Linked DNA regions of Homo sapiens: regions 2, 3, 4, 5, 6 and 7 are each linked to region 1. The links are contacts of gene promoters, found by promoter capture Hi-C in human tissues and cell types (Jung and others, 2019). All regions are on one chromosome and are shown on one strand. The core of a region is centred on a gene start or on the middle of the fragment in contact, and the rest is flanking DNA. Distances in the headings are between cores, read along the strand shown.

Region 1 (3,382 bases), core at 608-3,107:
CGGGAGGAGGCTGAGGCAGGAGAATCGCTTGAATCCAGGAGGCGAAGGTTGCAGTGAGCCGAGATTGTGCCATTGCACTCCAGCCTGGGTGACAAGCGCAAAACTTATTTCTTAAAAAAAAAAGAAAGAAAAAAGAAAAAAAGAAAAAAATTGGCTATCTCTTGCCCCAAATTCACCAACTACTCCCTCCAGTCTCCTTATCCAGGACAGTCTGTATCTTTTGTGGGCTCTTTCTTCTGTGTCAAGCTCCCCCTCCCCCACACCACAAAATAACCAGCCGCACATACTACTGGCACATCTACCCTGTGGTCCCACTCACTATCTACTGAATGGATGAGTGTTTGGGGCTAAATGTTCCTCAGTGTGGTGGAAAGAAAGCAGCAGCCTGGACCTTCCAGAAAGTCCTTGGCAGTGCAGGGATGGGGGGATCTGGGCTGCCACCCCTGCCACCTGATCCTGAATGACTTCCCCTCATCTGGAGTTCCTTCCACTGCTACTTCTCAAAGGTGCTGCGCATGCTAAGAGGGAATTTGAAAGTTCGGGAGTGCGGGTAGGGGAGGATGAGAAGGGGAGTGGCTTTACTCTTTTTTTTTTGAGACGGAGTTTCTCTCTTGTTGCCCAGGCTGGAGTACAATGGCATGATCTCGGCCCACTGCAACCTCCGCTTCTCGGGTTCAAGCGACTCTCCTGTCTCAGCCTCCTGAGTAGCTGGGATTACAGGTGAATGCCACCATGCCAGGCTAATTTTTGTATTTTTAGTAGAGACGGGGTTTCATCATATTGGTCAGGCTGGTCTCGAACTCCTGACCTCAGGTGATCCGCCCGCCTCGGCTTCCCAAAGTGCTGGGATTACAGGCGTGAGACACGGCAACAATGTGAATTACAGTTACGTAGACAGGAATGTTATTGATTGTAAGCCCGAGAGGCCAGATCGGGTTGGGGATCGGGATGGCCAACTGGGTCCCTTAGTCGGTCAGCTGCCCAGCGGTCCAGGGCTGGGCGGGTGTGGGGGTTTCGGCTACGTCCACCCGACCTGGCGGCGTCGGCTGCCGGCGCAGGTGAGCACTCACCCGTAAGCGTTACGGCCCGGGGCAGCTTCTCGTCGCCGTCCAACCCCGCGCGGGGCAACAGCGCCGCATCCTCCTTCTCCAGCCCCAGCTCCTTGCAGCGGCAGCACGTGGGGGAGCCCGGGGAGCCGGCGCTTCCTTCCGCGGGGCTGGCCCGGCCCTCTGCGTCGCAGCCGCTCTCCGTCCGGGCTGCAGCCAGCGGCGAGCGGCGGCCCCACGTGCCGCCCTGGGATGGTGCGCGCAGCAGGAGCTGGTGCGCCGGGTCCGCGTGGCGGGAGAAGGCAGGGGACTCGGGCACCGGCACCTTGAGGAAGCGCGTGGAGGGCCTGGGCGATGGCGTGCTGCTGCCACCGGCCGCGCCCACGGGCTTCACGCGCACATCTACCTGCAGCTCCATGGGCGCCCAGGCGCTGGGCGCAGGCTCAGCCCCGGGCGCCTCGCCATTCCGGGGCAGCTTGACCAAGGCAGGGCCCGGTGACGGCGGCTCGGGGCAGACCCCGTAGCCCAGGCTGAGCGGCGGCACGCGCGGGGACCCGGGGCGAGGCGAAGGCGGCTTTTTCTTGCTCGAGGGCTCCAGGCCTGCGCCCGCCGCCTTCTCCACGGCCCCGGCCGGACTTGGGCTGCTTTCGGGACCTTCAGGTTGTCGCACCTTCGCGGGCACCTGCGGCTGCTCCAGCGTGGGGACCAGGCTTCCCACGGGCTCCATTGGGAGCTCTGCCCCGGCTTGGCCTCCGGGCGCAGCCTCCCAAGACTCCTCCATCCCGCGCGCCCCGCCACCCGGAGACGCTGAGGAGCGCACCTGGGCCCAGTGCAGAGGAGCTTCGCTCTCCTCCGTCCGGATTGGTCCAGCCGCGTCGCCGAAGTTGTCAGGCCACGCCCCTCCCCGAAGGACCCCGCTGTGATTGGCTGTGGCTGAGGTTCTGCTGCCCCGACCCCCTTCGGGACACAGCCCCGGCCTCCACCAGGCACTGGGAGGGAGCTGAGAACGGCAGCGGGGCCAGGCGAGGGTTGCAGGGTGGGCGGGAGCTCTCGGGAGAAAAGCAGAACACCAGCGGAGGCTTGTGGCAGGGAACCCGGAGCCCCGCCTGACCCTTCCCTCTTCTTTGTCTCTGACCTCACCCATTTTCCCCTCCAGCCCTATGCCGGGGTGTTGGTTTTGAGAGTTACAGTTTGGGCGGGGAAGGATTGGCCAAGCCTGTCTGGATCCTGGGACCTCAGAGAAATCAGAATCCAAAGGAATTGGGGCGACCTGTGGAAAAGTAGCCCAGTTGGTTGTCCTGACAATCCAGCAGGGTTTCGAAAGGACTCTCCATCATACTTGGGAGGACTCCCCCACTGAGTAACGCTAAGAGAAAAGAAACAGGGCGTGGATAAGCAATTCTTCTTTTTTTTTTTTTTTTTGAGACGGAGTCTTGCTCTGTCGCCAGGCTGGAGTGCAGTGGCCCGATCTCGGCTCACTGCAATCTCCGCCTCCCAGGTTCAAGCGATTCTCCTGCCTCAGCCTCGTGAGTAGCTGGGACTACAGGCACCCACCCCACCACGCCCGGCTAATTTTTGTATTTTTAGTAGAGACGGGGTTTCACCATGTTGGCCAGGATGGTCTCGATCTCCTGACCTCGTGATCTGCCCGCCTCGGCCTCCCAAAGTGCTGGGGTTACAGGCGTGAGCCACCGCGCCCCGCCTGGCCTCTGGTATTTTTAAGTGCCCCCAGGGTAGGGTTGGCAGATAAAATGCAGGCCACTCAGTTTAATTTGAATTTCAGTTAAACAAGGGATAGTTTTTAGCATAGTAGTCCTCCCTTATCCACTGGGATAGTTCCAAGACCTCCCAGTGAATGCCTGAAACTTTGGATAGCACCAAACCCTATATATACTGTTTTTTTCTATACAAGCGGTCTTCAAAAGGTTCATGGAAAATTCATACTATGAAAAAAACTATGCATGGATTTGAAAATTTTTTGGCACCAAAATAAATTTGTACTAACTTGTTATCACATGTCTCGACAAGATCTAGTTTGAGGCACTAAGAAGGATAAGACATCAGTTTGAAAAGAGCTCCTGTCAGAGCAACAAGGATTCTGCTAAATTTGAAGCAAGAATAATCATCACATTTATGGTGACATCATTGATATTTTTATGAAAAGCTCATGGGGACAATGCCCCCAAGAAACCAGCAGTTTGCAAATGGAAAACTCGTTTTAAGAAGGGATGAGGCCAGGCGTGGTGGCTCAGCCTGTAATCCCAGCACTTTGGGAGGCCGAGGCAGGTGGATCACTTGAGGTAAGGAGTTCGAGACCAGCCTGGCCAACATGCTGA
Region 2 (3,329 bases), core at 504-3,003, 760 kb after region 1:
GTGGTAATGGGGGACTGTGTTTATGCTTTCCCCTACTAATGAAGGACAAGAAAAAGGAGACTGTCCTGGAGAGATGAGGACTGAGAAACCCAACCCAGCCCCTGGCTCCAAGGAGTCCCGGCCCAGCCCTGGAGACAGCCCTTATCAGCTGCCATCCCAGCTTCCTGTTTTTCAGTGGGCTGGGGACTGGGGCTGAAGGAACATCTGCTTCTGTTTATTCTTCCCCTTTATCTTAATGGGTTCCCTGAGATGGCTCCCTGGGCCACCTCTCACCACTGCTCTGCGTACTCAGGTAGGTAGTGCTCCCTGCCCTGGCTAAGACCCAGGAAGGGAAGGGGGAAGCATGGAGAGGCCAGAGACTTGGTGCCCTGGGATTAAAGCTAGTTACTAAACAGGTCTGGGACTTAAAACTGGACCCTAAAGTCAATGTAGAGAAGGGGAAAAAAGAATACAAGGCAAAAGACTGTCCTCCTAAGAGTGAAAGCAGGAAATGGGCAGGTTGCTGGGGGCAATCTTAGCTGCTAAGAGAAATATAATTACTTTTCAATTTCGGTTACACCTAGGCTAATAACCACAACTGGAAATTCTTGTTGGGAGAAGGAAGTTTTTTCTCATTAAGAGATAATAGAAAGTCATTCACCCTTGAACCTAGAACAGTCAACTTCAAACTGAAAGAACTTGACTCAGCTAGGGCCTCTGCTAGCCTGCAGTGCTTATCTGCACCTCTGTGCAGATTAGAAAAAGGTGCTCCTCTGTCCAAGCAGTCACAGCCCCCAGTTTGGCAAGTGTCCCCCTCCCTATCCCCTTCCCCAGCACCCTATGACAACGACAACTTGGCATAGTTACATTATCATAGCAGCTTTCTCTTCTCCCCTACTAACACTTTCATTACCCTGGACAGCTTAAGCTCTGAATGGACTGTCCCAGAAGCACAGAAAAGACTTGTAGGTGAGAAGCTGGAAGGGCATTCAACATTCCCTTGGTCCAAAGTCCCTGCTCCAATTCACTTCATGATAAGGCTTCTGGCTGAGTTGTAAGAAAGCTTTCTCCTCATATTCTGGGTCGATCAAGATCATTCTAAACTATGATTACTGGCAATTTAGAATTAATGAGAAAGGACAGAGCAAGACTCTGTCTCAAAAAAAAAAAAAAAAAAAAAAGGCAGACGCGGTGGCTCACATCTGTAATCCTAGCACTTTGAGAGGCCAAGGCAGGCAGATCACCTGAGGTCAGGAGTTCAAGACCAGCCTGGCTAACATGGCGAAACCCCATCTCTACTAAAACTACAAAAATTAGCTGGGCGTGGTGGCTCATGCTACTCAGGAGGCTGAGACAGGAGAATCGCTTGAACCAAGGAGGCAGAGATTGCAGTGAGCTGAGATCTTCCCACTGCACTCCAGCCTGGGCAACAGAGTGAGACTCTATCTCAAAAAAAAAAAAAAAAAAAAGGGAATTAATGAGAAAGTTTCCAGATTGTACTCAAGGATTTCTTTCCCTAAATTTTGCTTAATACCTGTTACCTTAAAGCATGGTTTTTGTTTTTAAAAATGTAGTATTATCAAGTTCAATGCTGCTTAAGGAGTTTTCTTCTTTTGTAGCCAAATTGTCAATAGATTATGGTGGTTCCAAGCTTGGGCTTTGTTATCAGAATGATTAGAGTTCCAATTGCTAGCTCCTCCTCTTGCCAGCTGAGAGGACCTGGGCAGTTTACTTAACTTCTCCACACCCTGATTTCCTCATCTATAAAATAGGGATAAGTAACATAACCTACTGTAAAGAATTAATGTGAATTAAATGAGGATGCATGGAAACGTGGCCCAGTGCACAGCACTTGATCAACAGTAGCTACTGTTAAGCTAATTTTAAATGGGTAAGGAATGTGATACCATTATTCTGTTTTCTTTCTTTTTTTTTTTTTTTTGAGACAGAGTCTTGCTCTGTCACCCAGGCTGGAGTGCAGTGGCACCATCTCAGCTCACCGCAACCTCCACCTCCTGGATTCAAACGATTCTCCATGCCTCAGCCTCCCAATTAGCTGGAACTACAGGCGCTGCCACCATGCCCGGCTAATTTTTGTATTTTTTTAGTAGCAATGGGATTTTGTCATGTTGGCCAGGCTGGTGGAATGTGATACCACTACTCTAGGTAATTGAGAGGATGACCATGTTTTCTGCCCCTTGGAAAAATGGTGGGTCCCCAATCTGGGGCAGGGAAAGTGAGCCTAGGACATCAAATTGTGCCAGAAGACAAAGAAGTGTTCCAAGACAGCAACCAGCTTGAAGGAAATTTTACTGGCCAAATTTAGTCAATCTGAACATCAAAATAAATACTCACTATAGTTGATAACACATTTTTTTTTTTTTGAGATGGAGTCTTGCTCTATCGCCCAAGCTGGAGTGCAGTGGCACGATCTCTGCTCGCTGCAACCTCCACTTCCCGGACTCAAGAGATTCTTCTGCCTCAACCTCCCAAGTAGCTGGGACTGCAGGCACGCGCCACCACGCCTGGCTAATTTTTGTATTTTTAGTAGAGATGGGGTTTCGCCATATTGGCCAGGCTTGTCTCAAACTCCTGACCGCCTCGGCCTCCCAAAGTGCTGGGATTACAGGCGTGAGCCACCATGCCCGGCCTGATTTTTAAAAATCAAGCCACAATTTTTAAAAATCTCTAGTGATCTTCAAAACAAGGAATAAAGGAAGGGAAATACCAGCTAATAAAACTGAAAGGAATGATAGAATTGGAAATCACTATTTGGCAACCCCCAATTAAATAAAGATTTTTGATGAAACCACTGGACAGAAGGTTATGGAAGAGCAAGATATTCACATCGGACTAAAGTATTACCTGCAGATGACTTGCAAATTACCAAAGGGAAAATTGCCCTTTGCAATGGAGACAGCTGGTGGTCATCACCTTACCAAAGTGATCAAACTCAGCCAGGCACAGTGGCTCATGCCTGTGATCCCACCACTTCTGGAGACTGAGACAGGAGGACTGCTTAAGGCCAGGAGTTCGAGACCAGCCTTGACAACATAGTGAGACTGTCTCTACCAAAAAATAAAAAATTAGCCAGGCATGAGTGGCACTTATCTGCAGTCCCAGCTACTAGGGAGGTTGAGGTGGGAGGATTGCTTGAGCCCAGGAGTTCAAGGCTGCAGTGAGCTATGATCATGCCACTGCACACCAGCCTAGGCAATAGAAAAAGACCCCATCTCCAAAAATAAAAATAACAACAACTAAGCATCGCTAATAGTGCAGCTATTATGCACTTATGCACTTTCTGATGTGATGTAATCTGAAATACTTAATACTACCAGCTATGAATTATT
Region 3 (3,300 bases), core at 609-3,108, 530 kb after region 1:
GAGCATCTACTCTGTGCCAAGCATTGGGAAATCAGCTGTATATAAAACAGATAAAAGTCCCTGACTGATCTTGGAGCTGGCATTCAGACAGTAGGGGACTGTCTGAGTCCTGGGAGCTCCTTCCTGCCATCCAACACCCCCAGCTGTCCCATCCTGGAGCTCCAACACGACTCACCCTCCAAAACGTCTCACTGCCCCTCAAGACGTCTGTGTTGGGCTTGCCTCACCTGGTCCTCCCTGCCCTTCCTCCTCAGCACTTTGAGCTGTAACTATACACTTCATGTTATATTCTTGGACACATATCTGCCACTCCATGACATTTCACTAATGTACACACCAACCAGCCGGTCACACCAACCTGTGGGTATCTTGAGAGCAAAACCAACTATTGTGCTTCGTTCAAACTCTCCCAAACAAGGCACTCCATAGAGAAGGGCATCTTAATTCATGTCCCCAGACCCCTACAGAGAGTGAAGTAACAGCCAGATTTCAGGCTCTAGAAACAGAAGCAGCACAAAGCATTAACCGTATGTGATAAATTCCACTCAACACTTTTATGAATTAACAGATCACATAAACCATATGGAAATACCTTTCACCATTTTTAAAGACAATATGTGGATGATTTGAGGGTATCTCAAAACGATATTTCAACACAAAAGCATTACAAAGAATGCAATTGTAGACATTGTCCAAATGTTCAAGTCCAGAAGCAAATACAGAAAATTCCGGTGGCGTGATTCGAACTGCATTGTCCTCAAGCACACAAGGTTTTGGGTCTCAGTGTGGAAGCAGGCCAGTCACTCAGGGGCTCTGTGCCCCCTCTCCCCATGCCAGCATTAAGACCTGATGTGCAGCCCTTCCCTGATCTCCTTTGGAGCCTCTTGCAAACTGTCATCCAATTCTTTCTTTTATTCTTTTTTTTTTTTTTTTTTGAGATGGAGTCTTGCTCTGTTGCCCAGGCTGGAGGGCAATGGTGTGATCTTGGCTCACTGAAACTTCTGCCTCTTGGGTTCAAGAGATCCTCCTGTCTCAGCCTCCCAAGTAACTGGGATTACAGGTGCCCGCCACTATGCCCGGCTAATTTTTTGTATTTTTAGTAGAGACGGGGTTTCACCACGTTGGCCAGGCTGGTCTCAAACTCCTGACCTCAGGTGATCTGCCTGCCTTGGCCTCCCAAAGTGCTGGGATTACAGGCGTGAGCCACCAATCCCAGCCTTATTTTTTTCATAATTGATATCCAGCTTTCTTCCAAGGGGATTGTGGGAAGCTGGTGTACATGTTAAAATGAAGTTCAAGATAAAGCATTCAGGGATCAAATAGAACAAAGGCCATTTAAAGGAAAGAAGGCCTTACAGGGCCCCAGAGCTGGCTGGTAGCTGGGGTCCAGCTGTGGCTTGGTGACCAGGGCTCCTGGCCAAGAGGGAGAGCAGCCAAGCCAAACAGGTGTGTTCTCCAGCAAGAGGACAGCACAGAAACTGATCAATGGACACAGTACTTCCTGGACCTAAACTCAGCCACGAATCCATCAGACAAGACCTTATTAGCTGTCATGTTGAATAACAAAGGGGTTAGGCTCTTCAACATGAAAATGCGGTGGCCGATTCTCCACTGACCCGTTATAAACAGCAGAGCAGAAAAGGAAGTTGGTGCAGGTGGACCAGGAAGCTGGTGATCTCACCTGAGGACCAGACAGAAACTAGAGAACCTGGGTGAAGTAGTTAGAATTCATCTAACAGGTCTAGAGGGCACGTCAGAAGACCATCTTGGCCCTGGCCTTGGCATACTGCGTGATCGTGAGCCTCATGCTGCTCCGTGCCTCTCCTTCCTACGGGTTAAATGGGGACACACACCTGCTTGGCTGGCCCTGCAGAAGCAGGCAAGAGGCAGTGGGTGGCACAGGTGGAACTGTAGTGCCCGCTCAGCTGCCTGCAGCATGATGTGTGCAGGGAGGAGCGCCGGCACTGGTCGGACAGTGGAATGGACAGCTTCCATCCAGCCTCGCTCTCCTGAGCCGCCCCTTCCCCACACATGCCCCACACCCGCCCCACACCTTCCCCACACCCACCCCACACCTGCCCCACACCCGCCCCACACCTGCCCCACACCCACCCCACACCTGCCCCACACCCGCTCCACACCTGCCCCACACCCACCCCACACCTGCCCCACACCCGCTCCACACCTGCCCCACTCCCACCCCACACCTGCTCCACACCTCCATACCTGCCCCACACCTGCCCCACACCCGCTCCACACCTGCCCCACACCTCCATGCTGGCCCCATACCTGCTCCACACCTGTCCCATGCCCGCCCCACAGCCGCCCCACACCTGCTCCACACCTCCATGCCCGCCCCACACCTGCCCCACACCTTCACACCTGCCCCACACCTGCCCCACACCTGCCCCGCACCTGCCCCACACCTGCCCCGCACCTGCCCCACACCTGCCCCACACCCGCTCCACACCCGCTTCACACCCGCTCCACACCCGCCCCACACCTCCACACCCACACCACACCCGCCCCACACCTGCTCCACACCCACACCACACCCACCCCACACCTGCCTCACAGCTGCTCCACACCTGCTCCATGGGCATTTTTCACCCTATCAGCTCTGCTGGCTTTTCTTATTGATCACCAGATATGAGAGAGACAAGGTGTCACAATTCTCACCCAGACCAGAGGACAATCTGCTTCTGCTCAAAGGATTTGGGGGTGAATGTAGGGAGAGTGAGCATTTTTATTTTATTATTTTATTTCATCTCAAAAAGCGTGTTGACTTTTCCCAAGTGCTGACACAACTTGGACTTACTCATAAAAGAAAATCAGAATCGCCCTTGTGGGAAACACAGCAGCCCTGTCTGAGCGCCACTGAGGTGACTCCCGGATGCTGTGCGGTGCAGTTCTGAAGCTTCTGTTGATCTCTTATGAGGTTCAGTTTACGGGGAAGGGAAGGCCCTATTTTCCAGCTTCCAGGGGGTCTGCCTCCAGGTCCAGGCTGTTTCCAGAAAAGAAGAACAAGCAGGGTGCCAGGGAACAGCTTCATCTGACCCCTTTGGAACTGCGGGTACAGACATCACAAACCCCAGCTGCCTGCCCTGGTTTCAGTGCTGGTGTTTGCTATCAGCTCCAAGCACATATAATTGCATTAGCAGCTTAGCATCTCAATGGGTTCTCCACGCCCTGGCCTTTTTCTGTTCCTGTCTGTTACATGAAAGGCTCATAACAGAGAGGGAGCAGCAAGAAGCCACAGGCTGCTTTTAATCTCTTACGGGCAGGAACAGGGCATAACAG
Region 4 (3,044 bases), core at 70-2,569, 620 kb after region 1:
ACCACGTAACCATTTGACTTCTTCCTATTTGTTACTCAGCTGTCGGTTCAAACCTGAGAGGCTCTCTGACCACCTTAGCTAAAGCAGCCAGCTTTACCCCATCCCCCTTTATTCTGTTGTTCTATTGTTTTGGGTTTTTTTTAAATAACGCTTATCATCTGAAATTGTATTATTTTAGTATATGTCTCTGTCTCCCCATCCTTCCAGCTTGAACTAGGATGGAAGCTTCATGAGGGGCAGGGACTTAAGTTTTGCTCACAATCTTCTCCAGAGCCTAGAAGAGGAAATGGTACTTGCTAAAGACTCAATAAACATATCAGCAATCGAATGAGGTCTATTCATTCAAATTCTACACTAAAACTTAGAAAGATTAAGCACCACTCCCTGTCACAGGCATAACTACTGGTTGATCCCTACAATGCTGCAGCCAAGATTAGATATCAACAATAGTCAAGACTATTCTCTTATTATCCCTATAAAGACTTTAAGGAACAGCCAAGTTTCTTTTTGTTGTCATGAAACATAATACTTGCCTCTTCCCATGGACACATCTCTAATCTTTTGAGGACCTCCCTTGTGTGGAGCTCTAGGATGTCTAGGTTAGAAGGAGTTCGGACATTATGATCTCGAAGTTTCCTCATCTTTCTTCGGGAATGGTATGGGGAAGTTGCTTCATTTGAGGATCGTGAAACTGGACACACAATAGGAATTCCCTGAGATTTAACTGGTTTGCCGTTTTCCTCCTTTAAGAATTAAAATCAGAGTATTTTTATAAGAAGGCTGTTACACACATACGTGACTAAATAATCATCCATAAAAATATTTCAGAAAACAAAAACCATTCAGTTTAACCATATAAACACAAAAAAGACTAAATCCTAAGCTTCAAACAGCTTTGCTGAGAACTTTATATCCCTTCTCTCTCCAACATAATATACTGTGAACATACTTCCTTGATTTTTTTTTTTTTTTTGACACAGGGTCTCGCTCTTGTCACCCAGGCTGCAGTGTGTGGAGTGCAGTGGTGCAATCTTGCCTCACCGCAATCTCCACCTCCTGAGCTCAAGCGATCCTCCTACCTTAGCCTCCCAAGTAGCTGGGACTACAGGCGCACGCCACTGCACCCAGCTAATGTTTTAGAGACAAGTATTTGCCATGTTGCCCAGGCTGGTCTTGAACTCCTGAGCTCAGGGGATCCACCTGCTTCGGCCTCCCAAAGTGCTGGGATTACCGGTGTTAAATTAGCCACTGCACTGGGCCTTGATTTTCAATATCTTATTAAAGGCTGTGTTGCATTCCACTGTTAATTTTCTGACCTAATACTTACTGGTAGCCATTTAGGCTGCTGTTCTTTCCGACAATGAACATTCTTTTCACGTACATATTTGAATAAATTAAGAATTACTTTTTAAACTAAAATTATACATCTATGTAGTTTTAAAAATTAAATATTCTATAAGCATATCATGAAAAATAGCAGCCTCCTCTTCCCCATCCCTCTCATTCTCCAGAGGCAACCACTTGCAACATTTTTTTACTGTGGTAACATAAACATAAAATCTGCCATTTTAACAATTTTTAAGTGTACAGTTTAGTGGCATTAAGTAGAGTCACAGTGTTGCACAACCATCACTGCCATCCATCTCGAGAAGCTTCTCATCTGCACAAACTGAAACCTGAAACTGTACCCACTACACAATAATTTCCCATTCTCCCTTCCCGCCAACCCCTAGCAACTACCATTCTACTTGCATTCTCTATGAATTTGACACTTCTAGGAACCTCATATAAGTGGAATTTTATAAAATTTGTCCTTTGGTGACTGGCTTATTTCACTTAGCAAAATATCTTCAAGGTTCATCCACGCTATACCATGTGTCAGCATTTCCTTTTTTTTTTTATTTTAATTATTATACTTTAAGTTCTAGGGTACATGTGCACAACGTGCAGATTTGTTACATATGTATACATGTGCCATGTTGGTGTGCTGCACCCATTAACTTGTCATTTACATTAGGATTTCTCCTAATGTTATCCCTCCCCCCCCCTCCAACCCACGACAGGTCCCAGTGTGTGATGTTCCCCACCCTGTGTCCATGTGTTCTCATTGTTCAATTCCCATCTATGAGTGAGAACATGCGGTGTTTGGTTTTTTGTCCTTGTGATAGTTTGCTGAGAATGATGGCTTCCAGTTTCATCCATGTCCCTACAAAGGACATGAACTCATCCTTTTTTTGGCTGCATAGTATTCTACAGTGTATATGTGCCACAATTTCTTAATCCAGTCTATCATTGATGGACATTTGGGTTGGTTCCAAGTCTTTGCTATTGTGAATAGTGCCACAATAAACATACGTGTGCATGTGTCTTTATAGCAGCATGACTTATAATCCTTTGGGTATATACCCAGTAATGGGATGGCTGGGTCAAATGGTATTTCTAGTTCTAGATCCCTGAGGAATCGCCACATTGACTTCCACAATGGTTGAACTAGTTTACAGTCACAACAACAGTGTAAAAGTGTTCCTATTTCTCCACATCCTCTCCAGCACCTGTTGTTTCCTGACTTTTTAATGACTGCCATTCTAACTGGTGTGAGATGGTATCTCATTGTGGTTTTGATTTGCGTTTCTCTGATGGCCAGTGATGATGAGCATTTTTTCATGTGTCTGTTGGTTGCATAAATGTCTTCTTTTGAGAAGTGTCTGTTCCTATCCTTCGCCCACTTGTTGATGGGGTTGTTTGATTTTTTCTCGTAAATCTGTTTGAGTTCTTTGTAGATGCTGGATATTAGCCCATTGTCAGATGGGTAGATTGCAAAAATTTTCTCCCATTGTGTAGGTTGCCTGTTCACTTTGATGGTAGTTTCTTTTGCTGTGCAGAAGCTCTTTAATTAGATCCCATTTGTCAATTTTGGCTTTTCTTACCATTGCTTTTGGTGTTTTAGTCATGAAGTCATAGCCCATGCCTATGTCCTGAATGGTACTGCCTAGGTTTTCTTCTAGGGTTTTTATGGTTTTAGGTCTACTATTTAAGTCTTTAAT
Region 5 (3,408 bases), core at 781-3,280, 540 kb after region 1:
CTGTACATTTAAATCCACAAGTCTACCACTGGCTGCTGTCCATCTTGACCCCTTGCCATCGCTGCCTCAGACGGAAACTGACTAACAAAGAACTGATGGACCCGGAACATGGACTGCTGGGCAGAAAATGTTCTCAACTTGGTAAGCATATTGTGGTTACAGAAGATAATGTCCTGTTCTTGGGATGTGTTAAAGGGTGAAAGGAGACAATATATGCCACCTACCTGAAAATGGTGCAGAAAGAGAGAGGGAGAGAGAAAGAGAGAAGTGGCAGCATGTTAAAACCAATGAACGCAGGTAAAATTTACCCAAAGAGGTTTTTTTTAATTATTATTATTCCAATTTTCTTGAATTTCGATTTCCAAAGAAATAGTATTTTAAAATTTTCTTTGGCAAGTTTAAAAATAACAGACAAGAAAACACTCAGATAACTCACGTGATAGCTAGAATACATGTTTACATGAGTATCTCTGAGGGTTTCTGGTTTCTATTCTAAGGAAATCAATAGTAAAGGCACAGTCAGGGACTTCATCAGGGCTGGGAAGGTATCCCCTCTCCTCTCCCGTCTCTGTCACCATCTCCCAGGGCCTCTGCTCCACAGGGAAGCAACACCCCAGCCTAGGCAGGCCACCCTGCCCACACCTGGGGCCAAGCTCCTGACCATGCCCAGAGGAGCAAGAGCAAGGATGTGACTGGTAGCTGTGCCCAGGTACCACCACACATGGAGTCTGAACCTGCTCATCAGCTCAGGCTGGTCCCCTCATGCCCTCTAGCAGTCTGTTCCTATGCAGGGGCAAAGCAACATGGGTTTTGCTGGTGGAGGCCAGTCATGCCTTACCCTTGCCGTAGGAAGTGCCATGAACACCACAGACCCGCCAGTCAAAGTTCTGCTGGCAGATGGCGTCCACAAAAATGGCGCTGGTGCCGTGGAACAGCTGCCGCTCGTCCACGGCCTTCCCTCCGTTCTGCTTCTGCATCTGTCCTTTTTGCCTAGAATCACAGAAGAATGTGTGCTGGGGGCAGAGTGTGCCGGCCACCAAATACAGCCGGCCTGATGCAAAACAACACATTTTTCCAAAATTCCAAAAGTGTCCTGGGACCAAGAGACGCAGGTCACAGGCTACCCTGACTAGGCCTGTAAGCTCCAGCCACAAGCCAGGGTGTGGAAAAGAAGGGGGATCGTGGGAGCTGGGTGAAAACCCTCCCTCCACAGCTCCAGACAGCAGCGGTTCCCTGGACTCCAAAAGCAGAGCAGCCCTTGGAAAATGGGTACCATTTCCCCCAACCCCACCCCCACCTTGCTCCTGCATGGAGCTGAGCCCTGGGATGCTGTAGGAATTTTCAGGCTGCTGGTCAGTGGGTGCCCATCCTTCTCCCCTCTCCCATTCCCAGACTTCATCACTGTGCACAGAGTACACATTACACTACCCCAACCCCATCTGGGGACAGGTCAGCAAGACCCAGCCTGCCATGGTGACCTATTGTAGGATTCCTCCCCACATAGACAGGTGAGTGGGTGCTCAAGGACAAGCCAGTCCTCATGTATGAACCTGAGACCCCTGCTGTCTAGCCACAGCCTTATGTTCCTGGGGCTAATGGTGTGGTGGGCTGTACTGACCCATCCCACTGGTCTCCAGGAAGGCAGAATGGACAAGTGAGAGTGCTAGCTTTGCCACCACTCATGAACGGGACCAGGTGGTATGCTCCAGGAAGCCTCGGTGCCCTCATCTCTACAATGGGATGTGCTACCACACTGCCCTGGGGGAGCGGACGAAGGAGAGCAGACACACAGCTCCCAGCACATGGCAGCCCTAACTGCCGCTCTGCTTTTCCTGGAAACCCGGGCCACATGTGGCAACCAGCCAGTGGTGTGAAGGGACAGAGTCACCAGCCCACCAAGAGCGAGCCCCAACGCACCACTGGTAGACTTCCCAGAGGGCCAGGTTCTGTACTCGCTCAATCTTCTGAACAAAGTAGAAAGGCAGCGTGCGGTTAAAGAGGTTCCAGACCTTCTGATACTCTTCCGAGGAAGAACTAAGGGTGATCTTCTGCAAGGGGCAAATGTTTTTAATGCATTACCATCAACGTGCAGAATATAAATCAGTCCCTTCCCAAAGCTTCTTGTAAACACTAGAACCGCAGAAGCACAAAAGCCCAGAGAGCAGTGACCACATTCTCCTGTGGTTTCTCCAGGCACAGGAGACAATCGGTCCTCATGAAATGTCATTGATAGGTTCTTGGAAACTGCAATTTTAAGTAAAACAACAAACCTCTTGTTTATGTCAGTTAGCATATGGGAAATTGGTTTCGTTAGACAGTATGTTGTGCCACTTTAAGTCAGTTTCCAAGAACCTACTGATGATGTTGAGGATTTACTATGTTTGCAAATTGTAGTCACTTTGCTCCTCATCACTGTGAAACCAATCTAAAGGACAGACACGTGATGCTTAAGCCACCATCGAGGGTATCCCCTGGATGTCCCTGCCTTTTTTTTTTCTTGTCCCACACAGGTCAAAGACACAGGTTGGACTACATGGTCCAAGGACCACAGAGTCGTCTAGACAAACATGTTGAACCCCTTTAGGTCCTTAGCACTTCTTGCCTGCACTGTTGGCATCTGCATGTGCCTTATACAAGCTCAATAAGTCCTCCCAGGACAGGGACCGTCACGTTTTAAAGCTGAGTTAGACAGTGCTCGGCAGCCGGCCAGCTGGCAGACATCAGCCCAGGTGCAGACGGGCAGCCTCAGATGTTAGTCTGCGTACTCTCCTGCACTCAGCACAGCTCCCACTGGTCAGAGCCCCTCAACAAGCTGCCAAATTGACTGTCCATTCTCCTGTCTGCTAGTCGTGAATGCCTTCCCTCCTGACAGTAACCCCATTCCAAATGTCCATCGGACTCAGGTCCTCCCCAGGCTGCTTCTCCTTTTCTCGCTTAATAAAATTGGTATTTATTGGTTAAGCCCAGCCCATAAACTCATTTCTGCCCTTTCTAGCAAATTTCACGCTCATCCTCCTCCCTCCACAAGACAACCCCTCCCCTCAGAGCCACAGCCAACTCCTGGGTGGTGAAAAAACAAAACCCTCTGCAAAAAACAAAAACAAAAATAAAGCCCACATCTGTCACTGCCCTCCTGCCCCAATTAGCCCCAGCCTTACAGCTTCTTCAGTGTTGAGGAATGGCACAGTCTGTTCACACACACCCACTTCTACAGAACACCTTCCTGTCCAGCCCCAGGCGCATGCGTCCCCTACCTGAAAGCCTGGGTCTGGCAGGGCAGAGGAGTCCCAATAGTCTGGGATGCTCTTCGGGCCTGGAAACTTGGTATTGCTACAAAAATGTAAACAAAAACACGTAGACATTTTATTCTTACACAAAGCAAATATACCATAGGTGGTCTCTGCTAGC
Region 6 (3,338 bases), core at 686-3,185, 560 kb after region 1:
AGTTAACAAAAACAAAATCAGACCACCCTGAACTATAAACATTAGTATTCTCAGATGCAGATATACGTGATATGTTTTTTAAAAAGGAATTGAGCATCAAAAGTATGAGTAAGAATCAAGAGACTATAAAAACTGACTGGGTAAATTTAAGGAAAAAAACAGAACTTTTACTATTCATTATTCTTTTCTTTCTCCTCCACTCCCTCCAAAACTTTTTTTCTTTTCCTTTTTTACTACTTTTTTTTAATTTTTTATTTTTTGAGACAGAGTCTCACCCTGTCACCCAGGCTGGAGTGCAGTGGCATCATCTCAGCTCATCGTGATCTCCGCCTCCCGGATTCAAGCGATTCTCCTGTCTCACCCTCCCGAGGAGTAGCTGGGATTACAGGCATGCACCACCACGCCCAGCTAATTTTTGTATTTTTTTGTGCAGACAGAGTTTCACCATGTTGGCCAGGCTGGTCTTGAACTCCTGGCCTCAAGCCATCCGCCCTCCTCAGCCTCCCAAAGTGCTGGGATTACACGCGTGAGCCACTGCTCCCGACCTTAGAACTTTTAAACATAATTAAATTAACTGAAATTTAAAAATCATACTTCGATGGGACACACTGCATCTCAGAAGAGTCTGAACTAATGAACTGAGAGCCTGAGAGGAAGAAATGTGGCAGAGTTTAGAAAGAGAATAAAAGAGAAGTTAGAAGACATAAAAGATAAAGTGAGAAGACTTCACCATATATCTAATGAGAATTCCAGAGAAGGAATACTTAAGGAGATCATGGCTGAGGAAATCAGAAAGCACAGCAAAATATGAGTAGCATAAATTTTTTTAAATCCACACACAGATTTTAGTGAAACTGCACAGCACCAAAGAATGACAAGATATTAAAAACAGCCAGAGAGAAAAAAACAGACTATCTATTATACTGGATTGAATTGTGTCCCCAAGAAGATATGCTGAAGGTCTAATCCCTGGTACCCATGAATGCGATCTTATTTGGAAATAGGGTCTTTGCAGATATAATCAAGTTAAGATGAGGTCATATTGGATTCGGGTGGGCCCTAATCCAAAACTGATGTCCTTTTAAGACGAGGGAAATTTGAACACAGACACATGGGGAAATGCCTGTGACAATGGAGGCTGAGATTGGAGTGACGCGTCTACAAGCCAAGGCATGCCAAGGATTTCTAAGCATCAGAATCCTGGAGGAGGCAAGAAAGGATCCTCCTGTAAAGCCTTCAGACAGAGCAAGGCCCTGCTAACACCTTCAGTTTGGACTTCTAGCCTCCAGAACCGAGAAAATAAATTTCTGTTGTTTGAAGCCATCAAGTTCATGGTAATTTGTTACAGCAGCCCTAAGAAGTGAACTAATACCACCTCGATTTAGGCTGATAGCTAACTTCTAAGTAGAAGCAATGGAATCCAGACAACAATGAAATAGTCTTTGAAGAACTGAGGGAAAATACCCAGTAAAACTATCTTTCAAGAATGAGAAGGGAATAAAAACCCTTTCAGACTAACAAAATACACAATTACCTCCAGACTCTCATTAAAGCAACCTCCAACAGAGGAACTTAAAGAAAGAAAATGATAAACAAGGAGAAGTGTGAGCAAAGGAATGGTGAGTAAGAAACAAAATGGTAATTGTGTAAGCTTAAACAAATACTGACTGCCTAAAACAATACGAATTTCTAACCTCTAGGATTAAAAATATTATATCAGCAATACATACAGTGCATCTTTTTCTTTTTTTTTTTTTTAATAGAGACAAGATCTAGCTCTGTCACCCAGACTGGAGTGTAGTGACACAATCATAGCTCACTGCAGCATCAAACTCCTGGGCTCAAATGGTGCTCCCTCTGCAGCTTCCTGAGTAGCTGGGACTACAGGCACGCGCCACCATGCTCAGCTAATTTTTTTAAAAATTTTTGTAGAGACAAGGTCTCTTTATGTTGCCCAGGCTAGTTGTGTATTCCCAGCCTCTAGCAATCCTCCCACTTCAGCCTCCCAAAGCACTGGGATAACAGGTATGAGCTGCTGCGCTCGACCCACATCTTATGTGCCTGGCAGTGATCTGAGTGTTTTATGCATATTAACTCATTTAATTCTCAAAATAACCTTGTGACGTAGAAACTATTATTTTGTCTACCTAACATATAGTAAAGCTGAGGTAAAATGAGATTAAGTAATCTGGCCAAATTTATATAATTAGTAAATAAGTTTGAATGAAACTAGTCAGAATTCAAGTGTCCAAGGTTCTTTCATTGTTTGACAGAATGACAAAAGGCACTGATTGGCTTAAGCTCAGCTAAAAGTCTGTTAAGATAAAGAGTCTGTTTAGATTTCCAGAGCAGCCACTGAAAAAATAAAAATTCAGTATATAACGTCCAAACTAGTAAAGGGAAAAAACCAAGTGAGGAAAAAAATCTACAAGAAGATCAAAAAGAGAAAAGAAATATACAAAAAGTGGGTCACAGTGACAATTATAATGAGTGGCAGAAATAAATCCAGATCCACGTTATTGGCCACCTGTGCTTCCTCTGCCGGGAAGTGTCTGACCTTGTAGTTTGCCCATTTGGAGGGTGAAGAATTTGAGTGAAAGAGGCCAGACACAACAGTACATACCACACGGTTCTATTTATATGAGGTTCAAGAACAGGCAAGACAGAGATCTATGGTGACAGAGGTCAGAACGGTGGTGAACGATGGGAGTAGGCACTGACTGGAAGGAGATGGGGTGAGGAAAATGATCCGTATCTCAATCAGAATGCTGGCTACACAAGTGTATGTATTTGTCAAAACTCACTGAACTGTATGCTTAATATCTAGGCTCTTCGCTGTGTGTAAATTTTGCCTCAAAAAGAAAGATTGGGGTGGTATGTGAACCATTTAATCCTCCTAACAGGAGTAATTGGTTTCACATACTTTACCAATAGCAATTTGCACGTAATTGTACTCTAAGTGCAAATTTATTTTACACACTCAAAAAGCAGGCTCAAATTCTCTTCTTGGCAACATATTTCAGCAAGTTCAATGAAAAATATGTTAAGTATCTGAAAAGAAGGCTATCCGGGAATCCCCTATTTACTCTGAACTAACTAAGGGAAAATACTAGGACATGCTTGGGGAAAAAAAAAGTTAAAGGTTAAACCATAAACAGCAGTTCAGCGGTATGGCTGTATAGGCCAAAGGCCAAAATTTCACAAATAGAAATTATCACCTCTCGCTTTTCTGTAATAATGAGTATAGATGTACATGATCAATCCCAGCACCAAACAATTGAGAACTTAATACTTGGTCTTGGTACCATCTTCTCCTTTCCCCATTGCTCCTGTCTGAA
Region 7 (3,378 bases), core at 42-2,541, 640 kb after region 1:
GAGACAGGATCTCGCTCTGTTGCCCAGGCTGGAATGCAGTGGTGCAATCACAGCACACTGTAGCCTCAACTTCCTGGGCTCAAGTGATCCTCCTGCCTGAGCCTCTTGAGTAGCTGTGACTACAGGAATGAGCCACCATGCCTGGCTAATGTTTTTATTTTTATTTTTAGAGACAGGGTCTCACTATGTTGCTCAGGCTGGTCTTGAACTCCTGGGCTCAAATAATTTTCCCAGCTTGGCCTCCTCTCAAAGCGCTGGGATTATAGGTGTAAGCCACTACACCCAGCCAAGAACTGGTATTTTTATAGGCATTCCTGACTTATCCAACAAGCTATCCTAGCCCAACATTAAGGCCAGAAGCAATTATTACTGTAATTTTGCTCCTTCACAGATATTTAATTCAGGGATTAAAGGATAATTAACTAGGGGAAAAAAAATCAAGAAGAGACAAAAGCCTAAAAGAAACCAACTTAAAAGATGAGGGCAGAAAGTAAATCTAATATAAATTTAAAAGTCATGGCTCTTCCATTATTTGAGATTAAAAAAAAAAATCGTAACGTTTAAAGGCAAAGTGACAGTTCCTGGTTAAAAAGTAAAAAAAAAAAAAAAAACTTCCCCCTTTACAAGTAACATTTACAAGAAATGAATATACCACTGAAAAACTAGGGCTATATGTTTTTGTCAGTGAGAGAACAAAAAATACCCCAATCTTACCCAGAGGACATGGTACCAGACTGAAGTTCCACCGAAGTCAATGTGGAAATCTGTATAGCTGTCTTGAACTCCCATTAAGCAATATTTCTGAACAAATGGCTTGGGAAAGACTGAATCATCTGGCCAATAATTTTCCACCCAGGAAAGTTTTTTGGCTATATCAGGGACCTCCACCAATTCAGACATCCTTTCAAAAAACAAACATACACACACACCCACATCATGCAAATTAAAAATTCTTAAGAATTGTTTTTCTCATCTATTCCCAAACCAAATAATTAAATGGAACTTAAGGTTAACAACAACACTTAAAAGTTTAAAACACATGTTTGTTTGTTTTTGAGACAGAGTCTTGCTCTGTCGCCTAGGCTAGAGTGCAGTGGCGCGATCCTGGCTCACTGCAAACTCCATCCTGCCGGGTTCGAGAGATCTCGTGCCTCAGCCTCTCTGAGTAGCTGGGATTACAGGCATGTGCCACCATGCCCAGCTGATTTTTGTATTTTTAGTAGAGAGGGGGTTACGCCATGTTGGCCAGGCTGGTTTTGAACTCCTGGCCTCAAGCGATCCACTCGCCTTGGCCTCCCAAAATGCTGGGATTAAGGCATAAGCCACTGTGCCCAGCCAAAAGTTTAAAATACATCTTATTTCTAAGTATCTCTGAGTGTCCCAATGCAAAATTTATAACATTGCTACCACTGGACAACTTTAGAAGTCACAACTATGTTTCTTCCTAAAATAAATACATCATTACACTACATTTAGCTAACACTCAGAATGCTAAACCAAAATACCCAGAACTACTCACTTTGTATCTGAAAATTCAAGGCTGATCACATTTAACACTTTTGGTCTGTTAGGATTCATGAAGTATTTAACATAATTGTGAAGTGTCATTTTGCTGTCTGCCTGCCTCGCCACATCAATGACATCTATCACTTTGTCACCACCTGCAGAGAAAAATTACAGTCTTATTATTGGACTTAAGAGTTACATCAGCAGATGCTCTAATCAAAAAATATTTTAACTTGGTATGATAATTAAACCAACTATAAAACTATGTAGTCTAGACAAATATTTTCCCTATACTCTTAATTTCTCAAGTTCAACTGGACCTTTCAGGAAAAAAGGGACATTTTTCAGAGGAAAAGGAAAGCAGTAAGACAGAGCTGCACAATTTACACTGAATATAAAAGTGTATATGGCTTACAAAGCTTTCTGTATACTAATGATATCTTGGTGTACAGCTCATAATGACAAAAAAATACATTATATTGGCATGTAGAAATTGTGCAACACTGTCTGGATTTCAGTTTTCTCAGGCATAAAATGAGGAGACTGACTTTTCCCTTTCACTTTTGTAACACCTAAAATATTCTAAGGCTATCATTTCAAAAAAAAACACATCACTCATTGGGGAATTAGCATGCAAGTTGACCAGGATAATTTCTGCCCTCCTGATACTGTCTTCTAATATTCTCCTTTAAGAAAAAATTAGTGATTGGGAAGCAAAAATCAGTTCACATTAGTACCAGTGTCCGAAGGCCTGAGTTCCAAATTGTGATTAATTTACAGTTTTCGTATAAACCCATGAAGTGGTGTTTACAGACCACTGCACTGCTACACTAGGAAGCATAATTAGTTTGACAATGGACTATGGGATAAGGTAGAATTCAAAATATGGCAATACTTAACCAATCTGAAATAGAAAACAAATAAATGCCATTTTCTTACTTTAATGCAACTTCATATAGGTTAAGAAAGTCTTGCCTTATAGACTTCTTTATCATCAGGAGGCAACACGGTTCTGCTCATAGTATTTAACTGAAGTGCTCTGCAGTACCAAAAAGTTAGCTATCAAGCAGTTTGAGCATTTTTTTCCTGCACATGTATTACACTAGCTATTTGTTTTGCAGATGCTATCTACGCAAATAGGTTCAGGTTAATCCTTAGCCCCATCCTCTCACTTGTCAAATATTCAAATTTAGCTGAATGTGAAGTTACAATACTTAGTTAGATTTCCTCAGTGAAACAATAATCAATGAGAATTGTCAACCAATGGCTCGATAAAGGGACAAGTTCTCAGATATTCCATGCTGAGGAGATAATATAGTAAATATACAATTTTGAGTCAAAATAGATTTGGAATCTAATCTCAAATATTCTCTATCTACTGCTGACAAGAAATGACATCTACATATAGTCAGCTTTATCTGTAAATATCACGAGAATTAATGAAATGACTGAAAATGTCAACAACATGGCAAGGGGTATAGGGGATCCCCCTTATTTCTCATGTCTTTCTGTTTCTTTGGGGAATTTTCAAAATCAAAAATTAAGTCCAGACATCATTAAATGGCAATATTCACCAAGTCATTATTATAAAAACAGATTTGAAAATGATCTGCTCTTTTTACCACCTTTCCTCTAAGCAGCAGCAGGTCACAAAGCAGACTCCAGAGGACTAACTGTGCAGCTGGTGTACTGGGATCTGGGAATTTTGCACCTGTATTCTACAGATGCCTACAACCAATCCAACTTTCCAATATCTTCTTCCTGGTATCTATATCTATCCCTCAGTAATGATTTTCCCTAAGCAAGTATCAGAGAACTTAATGGCACAAAAGAAAGCAGCAGGATGAAGCTGAGTAAATAAAATCAAGTAAA

What was found. The method cuts DNA at HindIII sites, captures the fragments that hold promoters and counts their contacts. A contact is called where the count stands out against the background at its distance.
Region 2: a fragment that was not itself captured here is called in contact with the fragment with the promoter of KLRG2 in region 1 in 1 of the 25 tissues and cell types used here (IMR-90 fibroblasts).
Region 3: a fragment that was not itself captured here is called in contact with the fragment with the promoter of KLRG2 in region 1 in 5 of the 25 tissues and cell types used here (aorta, dorsolateral prefrontal cortex, lymphoblastoid cells and 2 more).
Region 4: a contact is called between a fragment that was not itself captured here and the fragment with the promoter of KLRG2 in region 1, in 2 of the 25 tissues and cell types used here (dorsolateral prefrontal cortex and lymphoblastoid cells).
Region 5: a fragment that was not itself captured here is called in contact with the fragment with the promoter of KLRG2 in region 1 in 2 of the 25 tissues and cell types used here (mesenchymal stem cells and thymus).
Region 6: a fragment that was not itself captured here is called in contact with the fragment with the promoter of KLRG2 in region 1 in 2 of the 25 tissues and cell types used here (IMR-90 fibroblasts and lymphoblastoid cells).
Region 7: a fragment that was not itself captured here is called in contact with the fragment with the promoter of KLRG2 in region 1 in 2 of the 25 tissues and cell types used here (IMR-90 fibroblasts and lymphoblastoid cells).

The regions. Positions count from the first base shown.
Region 1 is chr7:139,481,816-139,485,197 of GRCh38, forward strand. KLRG2 (killer cell lectin like receptor G2) reads right to left here and starts at 1,858. Exons shown (of 5, transcript NM_198508.4): 1 at 1,071-1,858. The coding sequence starts at 1,827. RefSeq lists an enhancer at 1,018-1,097 and silencers at 1,228-1,507, 1,968-2,027. The HindIII fragment of the contact is 6,160 bases long and covers 1-3,382 here.
Region 2 is chr7:140,241,998-140,245,326 of GRCh38, forward strand. All of the region lies in intron 1 of LOC107986854 (a long non-coding RNA gene), which reads left to right. It also overlaps the pseudogene RNU1-58P. Among named protein-coding and RNA genes, the nearest start is that of KDM7A-DT, 66 kb to the left of the region's middle. RefSeq lists a silencer at 1,432-1,726. The HindIII fragment of the contact is 3,739 bases long and covers 1-3,329 here.
Region 3 is chr7:140,007,531-140,010,830 of GRCh38, forward strand. All of the region lies in intron 10 of TBXAS1 (thromboxane A synthase 1), which reads left to right. Among named protein-coding and RNA genes, the nearest start is that of PARP12, 54 kb to the right of the region's middle. The HindIII fragment of the contact is 5,138 bases long and covers 1-3,300 here.
Region 4 is chr7:140,101,418-140,104,461 of GRCh38, forward strand. It overlaps KDM7A (lysine demethylase 7A), which reads right to left. Exons shown (of 20, transcript NM_030647.2): 12 at 534-743. Among named protein-coding and RNA genes, the nearest start is that of PARP12, 40 kb to the left of the region's middle. The HindIII fragment of the contact is 3,256 bases long and covers 1-2,947 here.
Region 5 is chr7:140,025,359-140,028,766 of GRCh38, forward strand. PARP12 (poly(ADP-ribose) polymerase family member 12) reads right to left here. Exons shown (of 12, transcript NM_022750.4): 9 at 3,255-3,330; 10 at 1,918-2,048; 11 at 839-990. Among named protein-coding and RNA genes, the nearest start is that of PARP12, 36 kb to the right of the region's middle. The HindIII fragment of the contact is 6,744 bases long and covers 1-3,408 here.
Region 6 is chr7:140,043,286-140,046,623 of GRCh38, forward strand. All of the region lies in intron 5 of PARP12 (poly(ADP-ribose) polymerase family member 12), which reads right to left. Among named protein-coding and RNA genes, the nearest start is that of PARP12, 18 kb to the right of the region's middle. RefSeq lists a silencer at 2,910-3,110. The HindIII fragment of the contact is 4,828 bases long and covers 1-3,338 here.
Region 7 is chr7:140,125,923-140,129,300 of GRCh38, forward strand. It overlaps KDM7A (lysine demethylase 7A), which reads right to left. Exons shown (of 20, transcript NM_030647.2): 5 at 1,520-1,661; 6 at 715-901. Among named protein-coding and RNA genes, the nearest start is that of KDM7A, 49 kb to the right of the region's middle. The HindIII fragment of the contact is 5,645 bases long and covers 1-3,378 here.